Regions from separate parts of the Homo sapiens genome. Here all the other regions are linked to region 2. The links are contacts of gene promoters, found by promoter capture Hi-C in blood cells and fetal thymus (Javierre and others, 2016). All regions are on one chromosome and are shown on one strand. Each heading gives the region's core, a stretch centred on a gene start or on the middle of the fragment in contact. The rest is flanking DNA. Distances are from core to core; before and after follow the strand shown.

Region 1 (4,401 bases), core at 386-2,885, 1.6 Mb before region 2:
AACATCCTGATTATATGTAAATATAATGTTTTATATATATACTGTGTATTTTATTTATATGACACATAAAATGCATGAATATAATAGCAAACATCTTCAGAAGAATTGTCTTCATTACTGTCTCCACCTCTTTCCCGTTTGTCCTTTCTGCAGTCTTTCCTAGTCAGCCTGTCAGTCCACAACTTCACTGAAACTACTCTTAAACTCGACATCAAATTCTATGTTGCTAAGTTCAATTTGAGTTCAATTTCTAATCTTTGTTCTAGATCTTGCAGGAGGATTTGACATAAATGATCATTTCCTGGCTGAAAAACGTCTTCAATTTTCTATTTGTATTCCCTACTCTTTCTGTTTTCCTTCTACTGAATTGACAATATTTTCTCAGTCTCATTTTCTAGTTACTCTTCACCTTTTCCAATTTGAAATGTTGGATTACTACAGGACATAATTCTTGGAACATATTTTTGTTTTCTCCTCACTCTCTAGGTGTATTTATTCCATTCTTTGGCTCTAAATCCCATTTGTGTGCATGTGATTTCTCCGTTTATATCTCCAGACCATACTTCCTCTCTGAACTTCAGACTTGTATATCTCACTGCTTACTCCACATCCCAATTTGGATGTCAAGTATGCAATTCAAGACCAACACGTCGAAAACAAAACTTTTGCTATCCACTTTCTCCAACCACTTACCTCACTAAGAAATGAAAACACCATTCAGGCAGTTGCTTGAGTCAAGAACCTAGAAGTCATCATTGATTCATCTCTTTTTCTCAGCAGATTCTGCTGGTTCTATATTTAAAGTACATTTAGAGTAAAATTACTTCTCATCACTTTTATTTCTGGTACAAGCAACTGTATTTTGCCTGCACTGATGCAAGACCCTCCAAACTGGTATTATTTTCTTTCTTCTCTTTCCTGCCTACAGTTTAATCTTCACCCAGCAACCAGCATACTCTTTAACAACGGAAATCAGATCACATTACTCTCTCGCTAAATCTTCCCAGTAACCCCCCTGTAACACTAGAACAAAAGCCACAGAACTCAATAAATCTGCTGTGATATGCCTGGACCTAATTTTCCCTCGCTCTTGTCCTCACGTCCTCCACTCCGATCTCAGTGTGCTTTTGCGATTCTAGCATGTCAAATTTTTCTGTCTCCTGAGATTTGAACCTGTGTTTCCCTCTGCCTGTCATGTTGTCCCTATGATGTAAATGGGTTGTTCCTTCATCTTATTCATCTTTCTGCTCAAATGACACCTCCTCAAGAGGTTATCTCTGACCACCTTAATTAATACCATCCTTCTCATCACTTATGAGCTTCCCATCCTGCTGTACTGTTGGCTTGTAGCACCTATCACCTCCTGAGATGATTTTATGTAATTTTTTTGTTATTTTTATTTGTTACGTGCTCTATTAAAATCCAAGGTCAGAGACATGTTTATTCACCAGTGTTTCTTCAATGCCAAGAACAGAACTCAGACTGTAGAAGTGTGCAATAAATATTTGTTAAACAAATGAATAAACACCAATTTTATGCAAACAAGTATTAAAAGTTTGAAAAGAAAAACGAAACAACAAAACAACTTTGTTCTATACACATTCAATGCTTTTAAAAATTGCTATAACAATGTGCTGGTACATAATAAAAATAATCACTTGTTTAAAGACAAACACATCTAGAAGTAGCTTAACTAACACAGTGAAAAATACTGATTTGTCACCCAGCAAGCACCTAAAACATTAGAATATGTTTAAGGCAGTAAAAAAAAGAATCTATGGCATTTTTCTTCTGAATAAATACTTACAGGTAATATATTAAATATTTAGGATATCCAAAATCTTAATGTTTTTCTCAACAATATTCCTTCGGCTTTGAATATTTGATAACAGTAACTCTTTTTTTTTGAGCTAGCAAACATTTGCTTTTAATTAGTACACAATAAAACTCAAACCATAGTGTTTACATTTTTAACATATTTCACATTTCTTGCTAAAGTTTGAACAGCTCTTTGCAGATCAAAGTCTTTTTTTCATCTAGTTTTATAATGAGCACAGTAACTCTTTAAATTAACGGATAAACACACACACATAAGTGGAATGCATTCTTTTTATAAAAAATTCGAATAATATTAAAATTAAAATCACTTTACCAGTGTTAAGACTAAAGTACCCATATATATATATAATATTTATCATGTAATATTTGCTTTATGTCCTATTTTAACTTAATATTATATTATGAATATTTTTCATCTCATTTTAAAATAGTATGCTTTCATAACTGAATATCTATTACTAAACATTTTGGTTATTTCCTTTGTGTTTTCTTCTTTGCTTTTGTAAATAATAGTGGGATAACTTTTGCACAGAAACATTTATGCACACCTCTGATTACTTCCATTGAATAAATTCCTAGAAATGGGGATAGTGCGTAAAAGAAGATATTTAAGACTTTTGATAATATGGCCCTATAATCCTCCAGAAAGACTGCATCATTTTACATTTACTTGGGTCCTGTATGAGTGTGTCTGTTTCTGGCATCTTTTGCCAACTCTGAATATCATTTTTTAATTCTAATCTTTGATACTTTGATGGATAAAATAGCATCTTATTGTATTATTTTGTATCTCTAGTAAGTTTTGAATGTCTAGTTTTCTTAACTTTTAAATTAAAAATTAGGAAATAAAATACAATTTCATTTTATGAAAATGAAATAAAATACAATTTCATTTTATGAAAATGAAATAAAATACAATTTCATTTTATGAAAATGAAATAAAATACAATTTCATTTTATGAAAATGAAATAATATACAATTTCATTTTATGAAAATGAAATAAAATGAAATTTCATTTTATGAAACTGAAATAAAATGAAATTTCATTTAATGAAACTGAAATAAAATGAAATTTCATTTAATGAAACTGAAATAAAATGAAATTTCATTTAATGAAACTGAAAATGAAATTTCATTTTATGAAACTGAAATAAAATGAAATTTCATTTAATGAAACTGAAATAAAATGAAATTTCATTTTATGAAACTGAAATAAAATGAAATTTCATTTTATGAAACTGAAATAAAATTTCAGAACCTTCTTAATTTATTATGCCAAGGTGAAAAGTTAAGCCCTGGAAACTGAGTCACATAGCACCACTGCTTTTCTTTCTGTCATGCATGACTATTGCTTCTTAACCTTTGTGTTGAGATAGTATATGTTAAACAGACTCCCTACTCTTCATTCATATCTAGACTAAATGACATTGGAGATAGAGCCTCTTGTGATTGTTACCTCTTTACCATTAAGCAATCCCCTTTGTAGCCAATCGAATCTTATGTCTGCGTGTTAGCTTTTGTGTAAAAAATGTGTTATAATAATATACATTCTTTGGGGTATATTGGTCCCAGATGGCTATCCTTACATTTTGCACTGGATCCTATGCCTTTTGATTATTTTAGGTTGACACTAGTGAGTTTGAAATTTTGAAAAAAGGGTTTAGATACTCTTATATGCCATCTTAATTTCTTTTTTATGAATTCATATTTATCAATGAGTATTTTTCTTTTCTTATTGAATTTCAAAGACCTTTCTATATTAACACTGCATATTAGGACTTAAAACAGTATCAGGCACATACACGCATTAAAAACAACCTTTTGTCTTTGCTTGAGAGAAATTTCTGGAGCAGCAAAGGAAGATGAGCAGAAATAGCTCCTCCAAATTAGTTATAAAAGTTGGGATTGATTTGATCAAAAACAATTCAACACATTTTGATCATTTCCTGTGTGCCAAGCATCACACTGGAGACAAAGTGAAAATATATAGACCATGTACTGTGGTCACACACAGTACACTAGAGGACACATGTGCATAAAAGTTAAGCAGGAAAAATGTGCTAAAGCGTGACACATTTACCTGCTGCATGGCTTCCCTGGGGAGGTGAAGGGAACCTGTGTTGTTACTGAATTCCTTTCTAATCCTATTTTTCCCTGAATATGTACACACATGCAGATGCACACAGGTCACACCGACACACAAAGAGTACGCACATGTGCACAGACCCACACACTCCCCAATATATCCTTTTTACAGATGTCTTTCTTCCGATTGTCTACAGAAAAGGTTGCTTGGCAGGAAAAGTTGGAAACACAGGGTCAGACGGGTCTGTTAGAAACATTATTTCCTTCATACATACCCTTTCGAATTTAATTTTTGGAGACATCGTTCATGCAAATGCAGCACTTTACCTCCCAAGTTCTATCTGGCCCCCTGCCATGTTAATCACACAGGAACACAGGCCAAATTCAACTGTTGGCTAATCATTCCACATCCCACTGATTTCCATGAAACTTCCAAGGAAGTGAACTAAGGGCAGAGCTTGGCTGGCTAGCTTGCA
Region 2 (4,336 bases), core at 1,735-4,234:
GGCACAAGAACTGCTTGAACCCAGGAGGTGGAGGTTGTAGTGGGCCGAGATCGCACCACTGCACTCCAGCCTGAGCGACACAGAGTAAGACTCTGTCTCAAAAAAAAAAAAGAAAGAAAAAAAGTATTATTTTTCTCCCTCTCTAAAGAATTCTGAAGTGAATGGGCACCTGTGGAACATACTGAGGAAGAAACTTGATCACCTTTACTAACTTTCATTCTTTTCCAGATGCTTATTTCCCTAAATCCCCGTAATCAGAGATTTGGTAAAACATACTATAAGAATATGGATTGAGGGGGTTTTTAAACTAAGATTACAGAAGTCCTGAGCCCATTAATTAGTATGCAAAATTAAAGTTACATAGTGGATTTTTCTAGGAAGAGTCTTCATTAAGTCACCAGACCCTCAAAGAAGTCCTCTTACTCCAAAAGAGTAAAACTTAAGGGAAAGAGAAGTCACTCAGTCCTAACCAGTGTGAATTAAGTATGACACACTGGCAACTGCAAATTTTAGAAATATTTAGAATATTATACTTTTTGTTTTTGAGACAAAGTCTTGCTCTGTCACCCAGGCTGGAGTGAAGTAGCACAACCATGGCTCACTGCAGCCTCAATCTCCTGGGCTCAATGATCCTTCCACCTCAGCCTCCCGAGTAGCTAGGACCACAGGCATGTGCCAACATACCTGGCTAATTTTTAAAATTTTTTTGTTGAGATGGGGTCTCCCTATGTTACCCAGGCTGGTCTCAAACTTCCGGGCTCAAGCGATCCTCCCTCCTAGGCCTCCCCAAGTTCTGGGCTTACAGGTATTAGCCACTGAGCCTGGCCTAGAACATTACATTTGTAAACAATTACAAGGTCTAATATTTTAGTGATGGAGCACTTCAAGTTCAGCCTGAAACTAAGAAATTTAAAGACTTAGAATACATCCTAGGACCCTAAGACAGCTTGCAGTTAAAAAAAATTTTTTTTTTTTTTTTTTTTTTTTTTTTAAGGAGACAGGGTCTTGCTATGTCATCCAGGCTGGAATGCAGTGATGCAAACAAGGCTCACGGCAGCCTCGAACCCCTGGTCTCAAGCAATCTTCCCACTTCACCCTCCCAAGTACAGCTGGGTATACAGGCACTTGCCACCATACCTGGCTTGGATCACTTGTAACAAAATTAAATTTTTCTCTACACTAAGGGATTATATAGCTCTCACAAGAAGAAATATCTGCTTATTTGTGACAGCCTCAAAGTATACCACTAACAATGACAATAATAATGGGTAAGGTTTGCAAACTTTAGCCAGTTGCTGGACACTGTGTGAACCCTCAATATGGAATGGCTCACATATTCACAGCAACACTATGAATGACACACGATTTTAATGCCCATTTTACAGAGTTTAATAACCTATTCAAGCCACAAGGCCAGTAAATGATGCAACAGGGATTTGCACCCAGAAGTCGAACTCCAGAACACTGGTTTTACCTTTGACTCAGTTCAAATCAAACAATCCAAAAGTTTTTTGAGACTTATACCCCATTATCATCCTTTTTTTCCCCCCTCAGGGGTACTAAGAAAAGGGGTAGTGAGAACAGGGTACTAACAACAAGGATACTGAGAACAAAGTATATTAAGTATTGGGGTAGTGAGAACATGAGAACAAGGGACTAAACATAGGGGTACTGGGAACAGAGTTGTAAGAAAAGAGTACTACGTACAGGGGTACTACAGACAGGCAACTGAGTATAGCAGTACTAAAAATACGGTACTAGGAAGAGGGTTAACAGAACAGGACACTAAAAACAAAGTACTAAATACAGGAGTATTACAAATAGAGGTACTGAGAACTGGGTACTGAGAACTGGATACTGAGAATAGAGTAGTGAAAACAGAAAGAGATGACTTTCTCAGAAGTACCAACTTCATCTAGGTTCCTAAGTCTCCTTTAGCGATGAACCAGACCGATCATTTACTCTATGTCCTTCCAGCCATATCCCAGATCTATGACAGCTCTGCCGATGTCACATTATTTTTACTGAAATTTCTGCACCTATCATGAGTTCAACAGAACTGTTATTGCTTTGCACATGTTGGTATAAACTTTAATTTAGGGCAAACACTCTAATTCTCAACCACTAACCCAGTCACTGCAAACCGGCCCATTTGGAAGTGGGGAGGCAGGCCCTGCAGATGCGGTTTGCGTTAAGATCGGGTTTCTTCTTCCACCTCCCATCCCCAGGCCTCAGCTAAGTCTGATACCTCGAGTTTGACGTTTCCCGCGCTGCCAGTCGAGGCAGTCCCACCGCAGTTCAGGGCCTGGTCGCTCTTCTTCTTTTTATACTTGTCCTTGTACATCTTGTTGCGGTGTTTCTTGCACATCCACGGTTTGCGCTGCTTGGCCACCTGGCTCGTGGTCTCGCTGCAGCCTTCGTAGGTGCAGGTCTTGCTCATGCTGCCCCCACCGCTGCCCCGCCTCCGGGCGCCCCCGCTGCTGCCCTCGCCCCCCGAGTGAGTCTCCTCGTCCTCTAGATCCTCCAAACTAGCCGCGCTCTCGCCTCCCCCCGGAGGGTCCGAAGTGTCTAACAGGTCCGCCTCGTCCTCCCCAGCCTCCTCTTCGCCATCCCCGGCCCCTTCGCACAGGTACCTAACGGGCTTGCCCGCCCCAACGCTGCCCCCGGGGGCCGCAGCCTCGTCCTGCCCAGCACAGGGTTGCATCACTAGCAGGGTGAATTGAGAGGCCGCGGCCGCCACCGAGGCTGGCGCCAAGGTGGGAGCCGCAGCCGGGGCTAGGGCCGCGGGGTGGGGCACGCCGCTGGCGGCGCCCGGCCCCGCGCCCTCCGCTACACCCTGCGCCTCCATGCTGCTAAGACCTGGCCGGGGTCCACGACCCCGGGCTTTTAGCACCTGCTTGGCCTAACGGCACTTCGCGAACCAAAGACTCAGGACACGCTGGGGTAAAAGGCGCCTATACCGGGAAGGCGCCCCGACTGCGCCTGCGCGACCGCAGCCTGCGCGTCAGCGTGTGTACGCCCGCGGGCTGTCAGGGAGCGCGGCGCCTCTGGGGGCGGGGCTGAGCGCACAACCAACGGGACTGACTGCGCATGTGCGGCCGCGGCCCCTTCGGCCAGCTGGGGGATTCGTAGACAGGGTCTGGGGGCTGTGTCAGGTGAAAACCTGCAGTGGCTGGCAAGGCAGCGCCGTTTTACCTGATCCTATTGTATCTAAAGCGGTTCAAAGTATCTTCTACAGGAGTTCCAGTATGCAAATTAGGATTGTTCCTGAGCGGTCTCACGACTTGTAGTGTTAGGATGCTAATTTTATTATTTCCCCCACAAACTGCCTGCAAGGGGAGATTTGAAGCTGGGATGCAGTGGTGTCACAGCCTAGAGTCACTAGCTCGCAGTCCATGAAGGCAGAGGTGGCTTATTTGAAAATAGTGGAGCGGAGAGGGATGGGCCACACCTTTGGCCGAGTTGTATTTGCATTGAGGGATAACTTTGTTTTTTTTCTCCTGGAAACTCACTTGATTGTTAGTACTTGCTCTTTGCTGTGGCTGCTGAGATAAGTCTTAACGTTTTCGTTTAACACAGTGAAAATGTGTGAAAAGGAATACTGAATGGCAAACGTTTAAAAAAACAATGAATGTTCTACCAGTTCTATCAGTTGCTGGGCAATTGCTGGTTGTTAAATCTTGGCTTGCCCAAATCCCAGGAGAGAAAATATCCTGCCGTATCCTGAACTGTTAAGTAGATGTTCTTTTTCCCTTCATCCTATTCTTTCGCCTAGTCAGATTTCCCATCCCACCTACCGGAAAGCAATGACTTTATTCAACAAACTATAAATCCATTCACACTAAGATGTTTGGGTGCTGACATATAGGTAGATCAGTTATGTTTTAAAGAGAGGCATATGGAAGGGAGAAGGTTTGGAATTAGAGCAACCTAGGTAGTACTTCCTGTGTGACTACAGCAAGTTCGTGACAGCCTCTCCGAGCCTCAGTTTCCTCATCAGTAAAGCCTGCAGTCGGTGGTGTGCTAGCGCCAACTGATGGTAACTGGTTGCTAAAATTTCAGGAATATAATTAGCAGAAAAATTAAACACTGCTATTATTAAAAGTCTTACTACATAAACTTACAATAAGATTATATTAAAAACAAAGGGTACAAATCTCAAAACTCTTCATTTTCTAATTATTTTATTATGTTTTATCATTATCTGTGCTTTTAAGGTTATTTATGTCTATTGTATCTGTATGCGGAAATATTATTTAGTGGTGTGTTACTGCACATTTTCCCAACTCTGCCTTCAGTATGTCATGTTGATTGCTTGAAATCAGCCACTTTTGGA
Region 3 (4,036 bases), core at 5-2,504, 1.5 Mb before region 2:
AGTCCTTCTTTATCTTGTCATGCTTTAAGGCCCAGGAAAGACCTGGGCAAAACTCTTGGTGGGCTTTTGTTACATTTCAGCCTTTGCAAAAGGGCACTGGCTCTGTCAGCTTTTAATATTTAACTTAACCACCAAGTCAGTGCTGAAACAGTTGTTACGGAGGCCTGTGTTAGTGAGACCTGGCCTGCTGCAATACCTTTATGCTTTTAATTTTAAGAAACTATATTATTCTGTTATTCATACTTGAGTTAATTAGAGCAAGATCATACTGAGTTAATTATCACAAGATTTTTGGATAAAACAACCTCTAAAAATATATGTGCTATTCAACTTTGGGTGAGCAAACAATTTTCTGCAACAAACATCCTAACACAATTATTTCCTGTAATAAATATTTTTAGTTACAAGTTTTAAGTGGCAAGAAGCATTTTGGATTTCTTAGTAAGCAGACTTACACATGTGGGCTTCCAATATATATTTATATATGCGTATTACATCTCTCTCTCTCTCTCTCTCTATATATATATATATCTTCTACTTTGCTAAGAAAAAAATTTTAAAAAATTAATTCTGTAAGCATGTCTCAGTTTTCATAGCATTGATTTAAAGAAGTCTCAAAATTAAATAGAGTTTTGAAAGCTAATTAATCAAGTGAAGTCAAGTTGCTGGAAGAGTAAGTTTCAGTACATCTTTTTAAAATATTTCAGCTGTGAAGCTTTCCTTTCTGTGTGAATTATTTGTATTCAATGCAAAATGATAGCAATGAAAGAAGAACATTTATACTATTAAAAAGATAACATTTATATTATTAAAAGCTTTCACTCAGGTGTTTATGGACACCTGACATGTAACCTTTTAATCTCCAAATTTAAGCAAACTGTTTGGAATAATAAAGTATAAAAAAGTAAATAGTCACACTTCGTAAAACCCATGCCTGATTGTATTTGGTCATATTATAAATGATATCATCAGTGTCGTTATTTCTTTTTTTGTTCATCAAAAACTTACAAGAAGCTAGAAAACCTTCTAATGTTTTTAAGATGGCTTCTGTGGCTTTTCATGTGTCTCCTTGGCAATTTAATTAAAATGTTTCTGAAAAATTCAGATTACAAAAGGAAAAAATAAACATAACAGTGGGTGTTGATTGTTCTTTACCTGAGAGAGAGTAATCATTGAGGATATGATACAAAAATACAGATTTAACATAACATTTATCATAACTGATATGGAATGATGAACTTACCTTTTTTCCAACTGCTAATAAGGCATAATGCTTATCTTCTAATAACATTATTTTTATTTTCTTAGTAAATGAGAAATTGTGGCTTGCAGTTTCTGGCTTCAGTTTAATGCCTAGCTAAGACCGAGCTAGAGAATATAGAGTCTATAAATTTCTTTTCCACACTTTAGTAAATAAGACTACAGTTTCCAGACCCAGGCAACTAGTTTTCAAGTCCTGCCATTAGCATGAGGCTTTTACAACTTACTGGCAATCGCACAAAACCTGTCTAAGAATAATGTTTTTAAATGTTTGAATAAAGTACATAGATTACAAAAAGAATAAAGATATAGAATATTTCCATCACTCCAGAAACTTCCTTTGTGTTCTTTTCCAGGCAATTCATCGTACCCATGAGCAACCATTTACCTGATTTCTTTTACCATGACTTAGCTTTGTCTATTGTAAAGCTTCATATAATTGAAATAATACAGTAAACTATCTTTTGTGTCTGGCTTTTATTCAGTGTGATGATTATGTTATTGCATTTTAGGAACATATTGCTGAGTAGTATTCGATTGTGTAAATATACATAATTTGTTTATTCTCTTGTTATGGACATTTGGGTTACTTCGAGTTTATTTATAGCCTTATAAATAAGGCTGATATTAACATTTTTGTAGAAGTAATTTTGGTGACATATATTTTCTATATCCTGAATAAATGCTTTTTTTTTTTTTTTTTTTTGAGACAGAGTCTCTCTGTGTCACCCATGCTAGAGTGCAGTGGTGCCATCTTGGCTCACTGCAACCTCTGCCTCCCAGGTTCAAGTGATCCTCCTACCTTAGCCTCCCGAGTAGCTGGGATTACAGGCATGTGCCACCATGCCTGGCTAACTTTTGCATATTTAGTAGGGACGATGTTTCCTCATGTTGGCCAGGCTGGTCTCAAACTTCTGGCCTCAAGTGATCTGCCCGCCTTGGCCTCCCAAAGTGCTGAGATTACAGGTATGAGCCGCTGTGCCCGTCCTGAATAAATTTTTAGTAGAGGAATTGCTGGGTAGTTGTACATTTGACTTTAAAAGAAACTGTGACAGAGATTTCCAAAGTCGTGGTACTATTTTTCAGTCCCATCAGCAATGTCTGAAGTTCTAATCGTTCCCTTCCTTTGTAAACAATGTTGTCATTTTAAAAATAGCCATTCTACTGGTTGTGTAGTAGTAACTCATGGTGGTTTTAATTTGCATTTCCAGGATGCCTTATAATATTGAGCACTTTTTTCATGTGCTTGTTGGTCAATTACATATCCACTTTTGGGAAATGTCCATTCAAATCTTTTGCCTATTTTCTTATTGTGTTATTTGTATTTTTATTATTGAGTTGTAAGAATTCCACAGATATATGTCTTACAAATATTTTCTTATACTTTTGGATTGCTTATTCATTTTTTAAGTCTTTAAGAGCATATATCTTTTATAAAGTCCATTTTTTCTTTTCTTATGATTAGTCCTTTTTTAAAATCTAGTATAAGAAATCTTTACATAGTCCAAGGTCACAAATATGCTCTCTTATATTTCCTCTTAGAAGCCTAATAGTTTTAGCTTTTACATTTTGGCCTGTAATCAATCTCAGGGTCACTTTTGTGGGTGGTGTAAGGCTAGGGTTGAAGTTAATGTTTTTCTCAAAGAGGGATCTAATTGTTCTAGCACCATTTTTAAAAATGAACAAAAAGAAAAAATATCATTCTTTCCCCATTGTATTATGTTGGCAACATGGTCAAAGACCAATTTACTGTACATGTATAGTTCTACTTGTAGACTCTCTATCCTATTCCTTTTTGCTGTATATATCCCTATGCCAGTGATACACTGTCTTGATTATTATAGTCTTGATTATTATAGCTTTACAGTAATTCCAAATATGAAGTGTTATAAGTACTGCAGCTTTCTTCTTTTTATTTTTCAAGATTGCTTTGCCTATTCTAAGTCTTGATTCTGTCCATGTGCATTTTAACATCGACTTGGAAATTTCAACAAATATCCAACTGGCATTTTCAGTGGGATTGTGTAGTCTTTAGAGGGATGTAGGAGAAGAAATTGTATCTTAATAATACTGAGTTAGGTCAGGAATGGTGACTCACACCTTTTATCCCAGCATTTTGGGAGGCTGAGGCAGGAGGATCACTTGAGCCCAGGAGTTCGAGACCAGTCTGGGTGGGATGGGGAGGCCCTGTCTTTACAAAAATTTTAAAAATTAGCCAGGTATGGTGGTGTGTGCCTGTAGTCCCAGTTATTTGGGAGGTTGAGGCAGGAGAATTCTTTTAGCCCAGGAATTTGAGGCTGCAGTGAGTTATGATGATGCCACTGCACTCCAGCCTGGGTGACAGAGTGATACCCTGCCTCAAAATAAATAAATAAACAATAATACTGCACCTTCCAGTCCATGAACTTGGTACATTTATCCATGTATTATATTTAAATATTTTAGAGTTTCAGAATATTTTATAGTTTTTATTATGACGATCTTTCATCTTTTTGTTAAATGTATTTCTAAATATTTTGCTTTTGATATTATTTTATATTTTATTATTTAACTTTAATTTTCAAATGTTGCCAGGATATAAGAATATAATTGCTTTTTGTATATTGAGTCTGTATACCATGATTTAGCTGAATTTAGATATTAGTTTTATGGGGTTTTTTTTTGGTAGATTCTTTGGGATTTTTATATAAACATTATGTTCTTGGGGAAAAATAATTTTACTTCTTACTTTATGTTCTATGTGCCTTTTATTTCTTTTTCGTTATTTTTATTCCTT

The links. Contacts are between HindIII fragments. The CHiCAGO score rates a contact against its expected background, and 5 or more counts as called.
Region 1: a contact is called between a fragment that was not itself captured here and the fragment with the promoter of RFXAP in region 2, in 1 of 17 cell types (monocytes). The highest score is 5.5, in monocytes.
Region 3: a contact is called between a fragment that was not itself captured here and the fragment with the promoter of RFXAP in region 2, in 1 of 17 cell types (total CD8 T cells). The highest score is 5.9, in total CD8 T cells.

What each region holds. Positions count from the first base shown.
Region 1 is chr13:38,381,952-38,386,352 of GRCh38, reverse strand. No RefSeq gene overlaps it. Among named protein-coding and RNA genes, the nearest start is that of UFM1, 34 kb to the right of the region's middle. The HindIII fragment of the contact is 5,585 bases long and covers 1-4,401 here.
Region 2 is chr13:36,817,870-36,822,205 of GRCh38, reverse strand. It overlaps RFXAP (regulatory factor X associated protein), which reads right to left and starts at 2,984. Exons shown (of 3, transcript NM_000538.4): 1 at 2,249-2,984. The coding sequence starts at 2,848. LOC124903158 (a long non-coding RNA gene) reads left to right here and starts at 3,135. Exons shown (of 2, transcript XR_007063760.1): 1 at 3,135-4,039. RefSeq lists silencers at 1-120, 2,697-3,066 and enhancers at 2,177-2,406, 2,417-2,466. The HindIII fragment of the contact is 8,641 bases long and covers 1-4,336 here.
Region 3 is chr13:38,330,945-38,334,980 of GRCh38, reverse strand. No RefSeq gene overlaps it. Among named protein-coding and RNA genes, the nearest start is that of UFM1, 17 kb to the left of the region's middle. The HindIII fragment of the contact is 874 bases long and covers 818-1,691 here.